Regions from separate parts of the Homo sapiens genome. Here region 2 is linked to region 1. The links are contacts of gene promoters, found by promoter capture Hi-C in blood cells and fetal thymus (Javierre and others, 2016). All regions are on one chromosome and are shown on one strand. The core of a region is centred on a gene start or on the middle of the fragment in contact, and the rest is flanking DNA. Distances in the headings are between cores, read along the strand shown. Region 1 holds the start of ERLN (endoregulin). Region 2 holds the start of LOC124904059 (a long non-coding RNA gene).

Evidence for each region. Contacts are between HindIII fragments. The CHiCAGO score rates a contact against its expected background, and 5 or more counts as called.
Region 2: a contact is called between a fragment that was not itself captured here and the fragment with the promoter of ERLN in region 1, in 1 of 17 cell types (endothelial precursors). The highest score is 5.1, in endothelial precursors.

What each region holds. Positions count from the first base shown.
Region 1 is chr17:75,643,355-75,648,711 of GRCh38, forward strand. ERLN (endoregulin) reads left to right here and starts at 2,897. Exons shown (of 2, transcript NM_001162997.2): 1 at 2,897-3,432; 2 at 4,017-4,620. The coding sequence starts at 4,023. The coding sequence ends at 4,211. The region is part of intron 8 of RECQL5 (RecQ like helicase 5); the gene reads right to left. RefSeq lists a silencer at 1-29, enhancers at 2,824-2,968, 3,136-3,215 and a cis regulatory region at 2,889-2,902. The HindIII fragment of the contact is 6,633 bases long and covers 1-4,666 here.
Region 2 is chr17:75,294,800-75,300,445 of GRCh38, forward strand. It overlaps LOC124904059 (a long non-coding RNA gene), which reads left to right and starts at 720. Exons shown (of 2, transcript XR_007065908.1): 1 at 720-844; 2 at 2,912-3,080. RefSeq lists enhancers at 978-1,037, 1,118-1,207, 1,228-1,277, 2,780-3,039, 3,210-3,289 and 1 more. The HindIII fragment of the contact is 3,185 bases long and covers 2,405-5,589 here.

The sequences.
Region 1 (5,357 bases), core at 1,647-4,146:
CAGCCCTGGGCACAGACAGGCCGAATGGCCGCTCTAGGGCAGGCGGTGAACAACTGCTGAGTCCGCACAGGATTCGGTCCCTGCCCTCACAGGACTCACTCCTCCCTGCTCCTTGGCCAACTGGCACACACCAGGCCCGGCTGTCGGGCCAACTCCTTCACAGGCTTCAAACCCACTGAGATTAACAAACCAGACCTGCTCTCCGACAGCAGCCTGGCCCGCTCCTTTAAGAGGCAGCTTCTTGTGCCGGTCTTCCCTGGGGAAGATGGGCATGGAAAGGTGGCAGCAGTTGCCCCACTGTGGGAAAGAATAAACAGAAAGATGCTGCAGACCTGGGCGGCCTGAAGACAGGTGGGGGCCATGGAAGGGGCAGCCATCAGGCTGGTTTCAGGTTTAGAGGACGTCTGACTTGGTCACCACCTCTCTGTTCCCGCCACTGTGCCATCCTGGACCATGCCACCATCAATGCTTACCTGTGGTCACTGCAGCAGCATCCTAAGTGGTCCCCACAATCATGTCGCCAGCCTCTTCATGCCCACCCCAAGCTGTGCCCTCTGCTTCCGCCACAGGGCAGGCTGCTCTCGGCTCCTCAAAAGGGCTGCACTCTACTCTGAAGACCTGCGTGCCACACTGTCTGTACATCATGCCTGATTAAAAGCTACAATAGGGATGGGCGTGGTGACTCCTGCCTGTAATCCCAGCACTTTGGGAGGCTGAGGCAGGCAGATCATTTGAAGTCAGGAGTTCAAGACCAGCCTGACCAACATGGTGAAACCTGTCTCTACTAAAAATACAAAAAAATTAGCCGGGTGTGGTGGCGCACGCCTGTAGTCCCAGCTACTCGGGAGGCTGAAGCAGGAGAATTGCTTGAACCCAGGAGGCAGAGGTTGCAGTGAGCTGAGATCACGCCACCGCACTCCAGCCTGAGCGACAGAGTGAGATTCCGTCTCAAGCAAACAAACAAAAAACAACAACAGACCAGCATAGTATATCACATGCATGTAATCCCAGCACTTTGGAAGGCCAAGGATCCTTGAGCTCGGGAGTTTGAGACCAGCCTGGGCAACATGGGGAGACCCTGTCCCTACAAATATAAAAAAAAATTAGCCAGGTGTGGTAGCATACACCTGTGGTCCCAGCTACTCCTGTGGAGGTTGAGGCAGGAGGACTGCCTGGGGCATGACAGTGGCACTGCACTCCAGCCTGAGTGACAGAGCAAGACCCTGTCTCAAAAAAAATAAAATAAAAATAAAAAATGACAATAAAGCCACGGATACAAGAATCTCATTAGAAAAACTTGGCAGAGAGTATATAAAAGTTTCCTCCCAACCGGGCATGGTGGCACACGCCTGTGATCCCAGCTACTCAGGAGGCTGAGGCAGGAGAATCGCCTGAACCCGGGAGACAGAGGTTGCAGTGAGCCAAGATCACACCACTGCACTCCAGCCTGGGCTACAGAGTGAGACTCTGCCTCAAAAAAAAAAAAAAAAATTATCCAATTGGGGCCGGCAGTTAATTGAAAGAGCTGGTCAAAGCAACTTTTGTTAAAGAACACCTAAGTTCTCTACACATCTATTACTTTTTTACATATCTCACATTAAATGGAAACATACACCTTTTCCTTGGCCGGCCTTCCTGGCCTTTTCTCTGAGTGTGGGCTTGCCAACCAGAGCTCCTGGATTGCTATCTTCTAGTTTTGGTTGAGTGTGGGCTTGCCAACCACAGCTCCTGGATTGTTATTTTCTAGTTTTGGTTTCTTTAAAGCAGAACAAAAACTTAAAGTCATTGGAACTTAAAGGCAAAGGAAGCTGGGTGTGAAAACCTTCTGGGTTTTTACAAAATGTCCCTGATGTTTAGTTATCATGTCTGCATCTTTTTCAACAGGAACATTATCTGAGTGATTCCAAAGTCATCCCAAAGTAGTCAATAGGTATTTCTAGAAAGAATTTCTTTCTCCACTCGCTCTGAGGTGCAGCACAGGTGCTTCAGCGCTCAGACTGTGTGCTGCTGGATTCAAACTCCAACTCAGTTACTTACTAGCTGATGACCTCGGCTAAGTTATTTAACCTCTCTGTGCCCGTTCCCCACATGTAAAATTGGGGTTTCAGCTATTATTGTTGCTTCATTGGTTCCCGGGATGTTAAATTCAATTATGTAATTACAAGTACAACTGCCATGAACAGGTTTGGGAACCAACACTTGACTCTTGATAAGCATCTGACTTAACTGACGGAGCTGCACGCAAAGGGTGAGCTAGAGACTGGCCCACTGCTGTGAGCGTTCAGCATGCCAAGGGCCTTAGTCAGTAAGTTTCACACAAGGAAACAGAAAACATCAGGTAACCCGGGTCAGTGACGCCCATGATAGTTAAGAACGACTGTTCTAAATCTGCCTCCATCTGTCATCCAACCCTGGCCACACCTGGGGAGAATCACCTGGGGATGTGTAAACAATACGACATCCTGGCAACCCCAGAGACTGATATAAGTGGTACCAGGTGGGGCCTGGGCATTTCTCAAAGCTCCTAGATCTTTACCAGCTGGGATAAGCACCCGAGGGCTAGAAGGGAAGCCCTTGGAGGGCAGGGCCCGCCTCTCTGATCTCACAACTGGACACACAGTGCCTGGCATGGTTCCTGGCCATAGCGGGCCCTCACATCCTAGCTTTTAAAGGAGTATATGGTGGCCACTAGGTTTCAAGCACCAGGGCACAGGCTTGATCCCCTCTTCCCAGCTTCCCTATTGTGCCAGTGGGCAGAAACCAACCACACAATGTTGCTGAGGCCGTGCCCAGGGAGCAGACAAAGGCACCAATGGGAAGCCTCAGGGGGGGAGCAACACTTCCCCCAGAAACAGTTCCAGGAGGCACCAGGCGCCAGCCAGGGCTGCAGTTAATCATTCACCCCACAACACAGGAAGTGAGCCCTACGCCAGTCCCAGCCCCAGGGCTTCCTGAGCTCGGGGCAGGTCCGCAGTCCACACGTCACCCAGACAGAGGACAGCCCAGCCCAGCCACAGGTGAGGCGGCCTGATGGCCTGGGGCAAAGGCCCTCGGTCCAGTCTCTTCCCCGTCCACCCCAAGTCTGACTTCTCTCAGGAGGGACTCATGAACACGTGCCCTGAGCACCCCCAAAATGACATCACACAAGGGCAGAAAGGAGCTGAAGGGGGAACGTGAAAGGCAGAAAGGGAGCCGTGGTTGCCAGGCAACCAGCCCTAGCCCACCTTTGTTTGTTTGGTGACAGCAACTAAGGTCTGGTCAGGGCCGCTTGGCCACGCTCATGCCTTTTCCTCTCAACAGTTGCTTCTTTGAGTCAGGGTGCAGCTCTGGTCACCTGGCGGCCTCTTCAGCTCAGCCCTCCACAAAGTGTGAGCCTGAAGGACCACCCTGAATTGCCCTTGTAGGACCCAGAACAGCTACCAGCAGAATCAGGTAATGGCTCCCTCCTTCTCCACCTGGGCTGCCCTCACCTGGCTATGGGCTTGCAGTCTGCGATAAGGAGCTCCGCTTCTAGAGGACTCCTAAGTTCTATTCTCAGCTGCTCCAAGGAGGCTACCGAGGCCTCAGCTGGAGTTGGCCCCTCCTCGGCTCCTATACGCTCTCTCAAATGCCTCCCAAATGTTTGGCAGTTGGGGCAGGAAAAACAGGGAGACTCTATCATGATGCTTTTTAGATTCTAGCCAAGTAGGTCTCAGGGATGAGAGAGAGTCCTTGCTCACACTTGCTACTCAGGAAAGAAGGACTGGAGAATCCAGGGGCATCCCCTAGGAAGAATCCAGGGCCCCACTTCTTGCGCCAGTCCTGGCTCCTGTATCTAGAGCGGGGGAAATGCCATTTGCTGCTGGCTGCAGGCATCCAGCACAAAGACTCTAGCCCTTTCATGTCCCCTGGCTGCCAGGCGGGCCGGCTGCTCACAGAGGCTGCTACAGAGGCTGGAGTCGGCGGGCAGAGCATAGCACCTGGGACAGGGCCTGGGAGGGCTGCCTGCACTCAGGTCCTCTGTCCCTCTTTTCCAGATTCTCATGGACCAACTGGTATTCAAAGAGACAATCTGGAATGATGCGTTCTGGCAGAACCCCTGGGACCAGGGGGGCCTGGCAGTGATTATCTTATTCATCACCGCTGTCCTGCTTCTCATCTTATTTGCCATCGTGTTTGGTTTACTCACTTCCACAGAAAACACTCAGTGTGAAGCGGGTGAAGAGGAGTGACCTGACTTGCTGGGGACTGAGATGGCAGCAGGGGAGGCGAGCTGACCTGCCCCCATTCCAGTGGTGGGCCCCTTCGCGGTTCCCTCTGGCTCAGGGGCCAAGCCCTGGTGTCTTCCTTTCCCATCAGGAAAAAGTCTAGTAAAATACTGTATCTGGCTTAGGGTTGGTCAGACTAGTAAGATGGGGAGGCTGGTCTGAGACCAATTCTGGCTCCTTGACCCTATTGTTTTTAGGGTTCCCCGACCAGAACCCTAAAAGCACATGGAGAGGATGGCTCCACTGCCTCAGGTGGAAGGAGCTATGGCTAACAAGGTTCTCTAACAGGCTCACAGGCCCAGCCAGCAATTTCACAAATCCTTGACAGAGAAAGACACAACCAAATGAAATAAAAATTCCTTTTCAAATCTGCTAACTTGTGAGAGCTCATTTTTAATCCAGATAGAGCCACCAGAGCAAGCTTCCCGAACAAAGCCGCACCGGGGCCTGCACGCTCTAGCCTGCCTGTCTCCAGCCATCTTGCCCACCCCATCCTGCCCTGCCCCTGGGTTCTCAGCGTGTCTTTCAGTTCTTGAATATGCTGTGTTCTCTCCCACCACAGGGCCTTTGCACATGCTATTCTCATTGACCGGGATGCTCTCCCTCACACCACACTTTACTCTATGGCCTAGTTAGTCCTTCCTCATCCTTTGTATCTCCGTTTGAACCTGACTCCCTCAGGTAAATCTTCCCTAACCCTCAAGGATTAGGGTAAGGCCACTTGTTTTATACTCTCGAAACACCATTTACAGGACTTATATGTCTTTGTTGTTGTTGTTTCTTTGTTTTTGAGACAGAGTCTTGCTCTGTCACCCAGGCTAGAGTGCGGTGGCGCTATCTGGGCTCACTGCAAACTCCACCTCCCGGGTCACGCCATTCTCCTGCCTCAGCCTCCCGAGTAGCTGGGACTACAGGCTCCCACCACCGTGACCGGCTAATTTTTTTGTATTTTTAGTAGAGATGGGGTTTCACCGTGTTAGCCAGGATGGTCTCGATCTCCTCACCTTGTGATCCACCCGCCTCAGCCTCCAAAGTGCTAGGATTACACGCATGAGCCACGGCGCCCGGCCTTTTTTTTTTTTTTTTTTTGAGATGGGGTCTCACTCCCAT
Region 2 (5,646 bases), core at 2,747-5,246, 350 kb before region 1:
CAGCCTGGGTGGCAAGAGTGAGACTCCATCTCAAAAAAAAAAAAGATGTTAAGGTGGGCTTGGTGCAGTGACTCATGCCTGTAATCCCAGCACTTTGCGAGGCCGAGACAGGTGGATCACTTGAAGTGAGGAGTTCGAGACCAGCCTGGCCAACATGGTGAAACCCCGTCTCTACTAAAAATACAAAAATTATCTGGGCGTGGTGGTGGGCACCTGTAATCCCAGCTACTCAGGAGGCTGAGGCAGGAGAATCACTTGAACCTGGGAGGAGGAGGTTGCAGTGAGCCGAGATCACTCCACTCCAGCCTGGACAACACAGCAAGACTCCATCTCAAAAATAAACAAAAATAAATAAATAAATAAAAATAAAGATGTTAAGTTGGCCCATAATGGGCAGAACCTAAAAAAGAAATTTGACTTCCTGTTCTAGTCGAAAGCGTCCCTCACTGTGGTCTTCCGGGCTGCACTGTCCTCCCTCACTCCCTCTGTCTCCTTGCTTAGGGATTGCCTTATTTCCCCATGCAAGTGCAGCCCTCATGTTTTATCTCTGTTGTCCAGGTCAGTTTGTGAACTGATTGCTAACCTCTTTCCAGATCATCTCTTTGGCTAAGGAGATCTTTGGCCCTACTTTGTTTTCCTGAACTAGAGCAAACCCACATTTTAGAATGGGCCTCTTCAAAGGCCAATCAGCAGATAAGCCAGGAAGGACCTTTGACTACAGGCTAATTGTAGGGTGACTTAGACCCAGGGCACCACAGATGGTCAGAACTGGAAAGATTCATGGAGGTCATTTCATCTGGCCGGGGCCCAGAAGGACTAGGAGATGTGCCTGCAGTCCCTCAAGGTCAGGTGGCAAATTGGTGGCTGGGATGAGATGAGACTGGAGGTAGATGCTAGTTTTCCTGGGCTGACCCGGATTGTAGTTTTTATATATTTCAAATTTGGCCATTTCATTTTAAGTTAAATATGTTTAGTAAATCTGAAAAGAGAAACCAGAAAGTAACGGTTCCCGTCAGCTTGGGGAAGTGAATCCTTCTGTGACTTCACCAACACTTACCCTAAAGAGGCCTATAAAAAGCTCCTTTGGACTTCCCCCGCCTCCTAAGAAGGAGTAAATATCTCCTTGGCCTTGACCAAATAGAGTTGGTATTTAGCAGCTGCTTGAGCTGATGCTTCTGAGGCAAATGAGTCTCTTAACATCTAACTGAGTTGGTCAGCTCTCTGTAAGAGGCCTGAAAGTCAGAAGGCAACTTGCTGTGTGTCTCTGGCAAGTAACTTTCCTTCTCTGGGCTGCAGTTCCTTCATCTGTTCAGATGGAGTTGGACTACAGGGTAGGTCAAGCCTTGCTGCCTCTGCACCTCCACAGTTCTAAAATATAATCTGCATTTTTTTTTTTTTTTGAGACGGAGCCTCGCTCTGTTGCCCAGGCTGGAGTGCAGTGGCGCAATCTCGGCTCACTGCAAGCTCTGCCTCCCGGGCTCAAGCCATTCTGCCTCAGCCTCCCGAGTAGCTGCGACTACGGGCACCTGCCACCACGCCCAGCTAATTTTTTGTATTTTTAGTAGAGACGGGGTTTCACCGTGTTAGCCATGATGGTCTCGATCTCTTGACCTCGTGATCCACCTGCCTCAGCCTCCCAAAGTGCTGGGATTACAGGCGTGAGCCACTGTGCCCGGCCTTTTTTTTTTTTTTTTTTTTTTTTAATGGAGATGGAGTCTCACTATGTTGTCCAGGCTGGTCTCGAGCTCCTGGCCTTAAGCAATCACCTCGCTTCAGCCTCCCAAAGTGCTGGGATCAAGGGTTTGAGCCACCATATGCCTGGACTTAAAAAAAACAACAACTCATCAAATATTGAGGGCCTGTTTTGGCCAGACACTGTTTTAGATGTTGGAGATTCAGCAGTGAATCAATCAGAATTCTTGCCCTCTTGGATCAGGCTTTCTTTCACTCAGCAATATGCAGCTAAGGTTTTTCCACAATTTCTCCTGGCCTGATAGTGTGTTTCTTTTTGGTGTGGAATAACATTTCATTGTGCGGTTCCAGCACACAGTTTGCTTATCCATTCACCTATTAAAGGATGTCTTAGCTGGGCACAGTGGCTCATGCCTGTAATCCCAGCACTTTGGGAGGCCGAGGTGGGCAGATCACGAGGTTAGGAGTTCGAGACCAGCCTGGCCAACATAGTGAAACCCCCGTCTCTACTAAAAATACAAAAAATTAGCTGGACGTGGTGGTAGGCGCCTGTAATCCCAGCTACTTAGGAGGCTAAGGCAGGAGAATTGATTGAACCTGGGAGGCGGAGGTTGCAGTGAGCTGAGATCATGCCATTGTACTCCAGCACAGGTGACAGTGCGAGACTCCGTCTCAAAAAACCCAAAAAAACAGGACATCTTAGTTGCTTCCAAGCTTTAGCATTTATGAATAAAGTTGCCATAAGCCTTCATGTGCAGGTTTTTGCATGGATATAAATCTCCATCATTTTATTTTATTTTATTTTATTTTTAAATGAGACGGGGTGTGCCCAGGCTGGTCTTGAACTCCTGACCTCAAGCAATCCACCCACCTTGGCCTTCCAAAGTGCTGAGATTACAGGCATGAGCCACTATGGCCGGCCTTCATTTTATTTTTTAAAACTTAATAGAGCTAAAGGGCTGAGGAAATAATGAGAAGCCAACCACTGATGGAGGATTCTGGAGGAAGTTCTGATAGGCTGCAAGCCCCAAAGATAGGGGCACCTTGGCAACAGTTCCTTTTTTTCTTTGTTCTTTCAGATTTACTCAGCAAATGACTCAAACACCAGTAAACTAAAATAAAAAAAAAAAAGAAAGAAAGAAAGAGAGGATTCACTGTCCAGTAACTTTCAATAGCTGATTTCTTACCCATTTTGACTTTCTTCTGTTGCTCTTCTCAGGGGAGTCAAACATCAAGAGGCTACAGGGCGCCGGGTGCGGTGGCTCACGTCTGTAATGCCGGCACTTCAGGAGGTCGAGGCGGGCGGATCATCTGACGTCAGGAGTTTGAGACCAGCCTGGCCAACGTGGTGAAACCCTGTCTCTACTAATAATAAAAAACTAGCTGGGTGAGGTGGCTCATGCCTGTAATCCCAGCACTTTGGGAGGCCGAGGCAGGCAGATCACTTGAGGTTAGGAGTTTGAAACCAGCCTTGCCAACATGGTGAAACCCCGTCTCTACTAAAACTATAAAAATTATCTGGGCGTGGTGGCACCTGCCTGTAATCCCAGCTACTCTGGAGGCTGAGGCAGGAGAATGGCTTGAATCCGGGAGGCGGAGGTTGCTGTGAGCTGAGATCGCGCCATTGCACTCCAGCCTAGGCAACAGGAGCGAAACTCCGTTGTTTCGCTACAGGAAATTCCAAAAAGAGGCTACAGGAAATGTCAATACCAGGCCAGAGAAGAAGGGTTCCCAAGTTTGCTGGAGGGTCTCAAGGCTTCCAGCTTTGTGGTTTTCGGCATTTGGTTCTCTTTGACCAGATCATCAACTGTTGTGGGTGACCACGCCTCCTCACTCATCACCTGTTTCTGAGCTTCTGTGAGAAAGAATTTTCTGGCTGGGCGCGGTGGCTCACTCCTGTAATCCCAGCACTTTGGGAGGCCGAGGTGGGTGGATCAACTGAGGTCAGGAGTTCAAGACCAGCCTGGCCAACATGGTGAAACCCCTTCTCTACTAAATATACAACAAAAATTAGCCAGGCGTGGTGGAAGGTGCCTATAATCCCAGCTACTCGGGAGGCTGAGGCAGGAGAATCGCTTGAACCTGGGAGGCAGAGGTTGCAGTGAGCCAAGATCACGCCACTGCACTCGAGCCTGGGCAACAAGAGCGAAAATCTGTCTCAAAAAATAAAATAAAAGGAATTTTTGCTGTGTCTGTGGGAAGCCCATCTTCACCCTGCCTGCCATCAAATGCACACAGAGAACAGAGTGCAGCCCTGTCGTGAAGGTAGAGGTGTCTGTGTGTGGAAGGGTTGACATGTCCCACATCCACCGCAAACCATGTCTTCTTTTATTTTTTATTTTTTGAGACAGAGTCTCGCTCTGTAGCCCAGGCTGGAATGTAGTGGCAGCGGTTTTGGCTCACTGCAACCTCTGTCTCCAAAGTTTCAGCAGTTCTCCTGCCTCAGCCTCCTGAGTAGCTGGGATTACAGGCACGCGCCACCACACCCAGCTAATTTTTTATTATTAGTAGAGACAGAGTTTCACCATGTTGGCAAGGCTGGTCTCGAACTCCTAACCTCAGGTGATCTGCCTTCCTCGGCCTCCCAAAGTGCTGGGATTCCAGGCGTGAACCACCGCGCCTAGCCACAGACCACGTCTTCTTCCGTGACAATTTACGGTTCCTGACTCAAGGATGACTACCTCTCCCAGCACTTTGGAAGGCTGAGGCAGGAGGATTACTTGAGCCCAGGAGTTCAAGACCAGCCTGGGCAACAATAGTGAGACTTTGTTTCTACCAAAAAAAAAAAAAAAAAAAAACCGCTGGATGTGTGGCACGCGCCTGTAGTCCTAGCTCCTTGGGAGGCTGAGGTGGAAGGTTCTCTTGAGCCTGGGAGGTCAAGGCTACAGTGAGCCAAAATCATGCCACTGCACTCCAGCCTGGGAGTGCAGGACCCCGTCTCAAAAACAAAAAATGGGCCGGGCGAGGTGGCTCACGCCTGTAATCCCGGCACTTTGGGAGGCCGAGGCAGGAGGATCATGAGGTCAGGAGATCAAGACCATCCTGGCTAACATGGTGAAACCCCGTCTCTACTAAAAATACAAAAAATTAGCTGGGCGTGGTGGAGGGCACCTGTAGTCCCAGCTACTTGGGAGGCTGAGGCAGGAGAATGGTGTGAACCCGGGAGGTGGAGCTTGCAGTGAGCTGAGATCGCACCGCTGCACTCCAGCCTGGATGACAGAGTGAGACTCCATCTGAAAAAAAAAAAAAAAAAAAAAGTTGACTACTTTTGGGAGCTCCAAATCTAAGAAGCAGGCTATGAGAAAATGGGCCTAAAGCCTCCTCAAATCCATAGCAAATCAGGCAGGGTGGTCATGTCATTACTCCCAAGACAGAAACAGATTTTCTCCTGTCCCAGTATTGATACATTTCTTTCCACTGGGCTTTTCCTGTATTTAAGTGATGTGTTTTTGTTTTTAACACAATTATAATCCTACTGTACATGTAAGATTATGCGCTTTCATTTAACATTGTACTATGATGATGTTTTCCATGTTTTTTAAGTTTTTCATAAAGTATAACTTTTGTTGGTTGTATCACAATCTTTTTTTTCTTTTTTGAGATGAGATCCTCCTCTGTTGCCCAGTGGCAGTGCAGTGGCATGATCACGATTTATTGCAGCCTTGACGGCCCAGACTCATGCAATTCTCCCACCTCAGCTTCCTGAATAACTGGGACCACAGGTGTGTACCACCATGCCTGGCTAATTTTTATTTTATTATTTGTAGAGATGAGGTTTTCCTATGTTGTCCAGGTTGGTCTCCAACTCCTGGGATCAAGCAATCCTCCCGTCTCAGCCTTCCAAACTGCTTGGATTACAGGCATGAGCCACTGCACCTGGCTCATAATGATTTTTAAAGCTTATTTGTATTAAGATATAATTCACATAACATTAAAAAACATCAAAAAACTGTA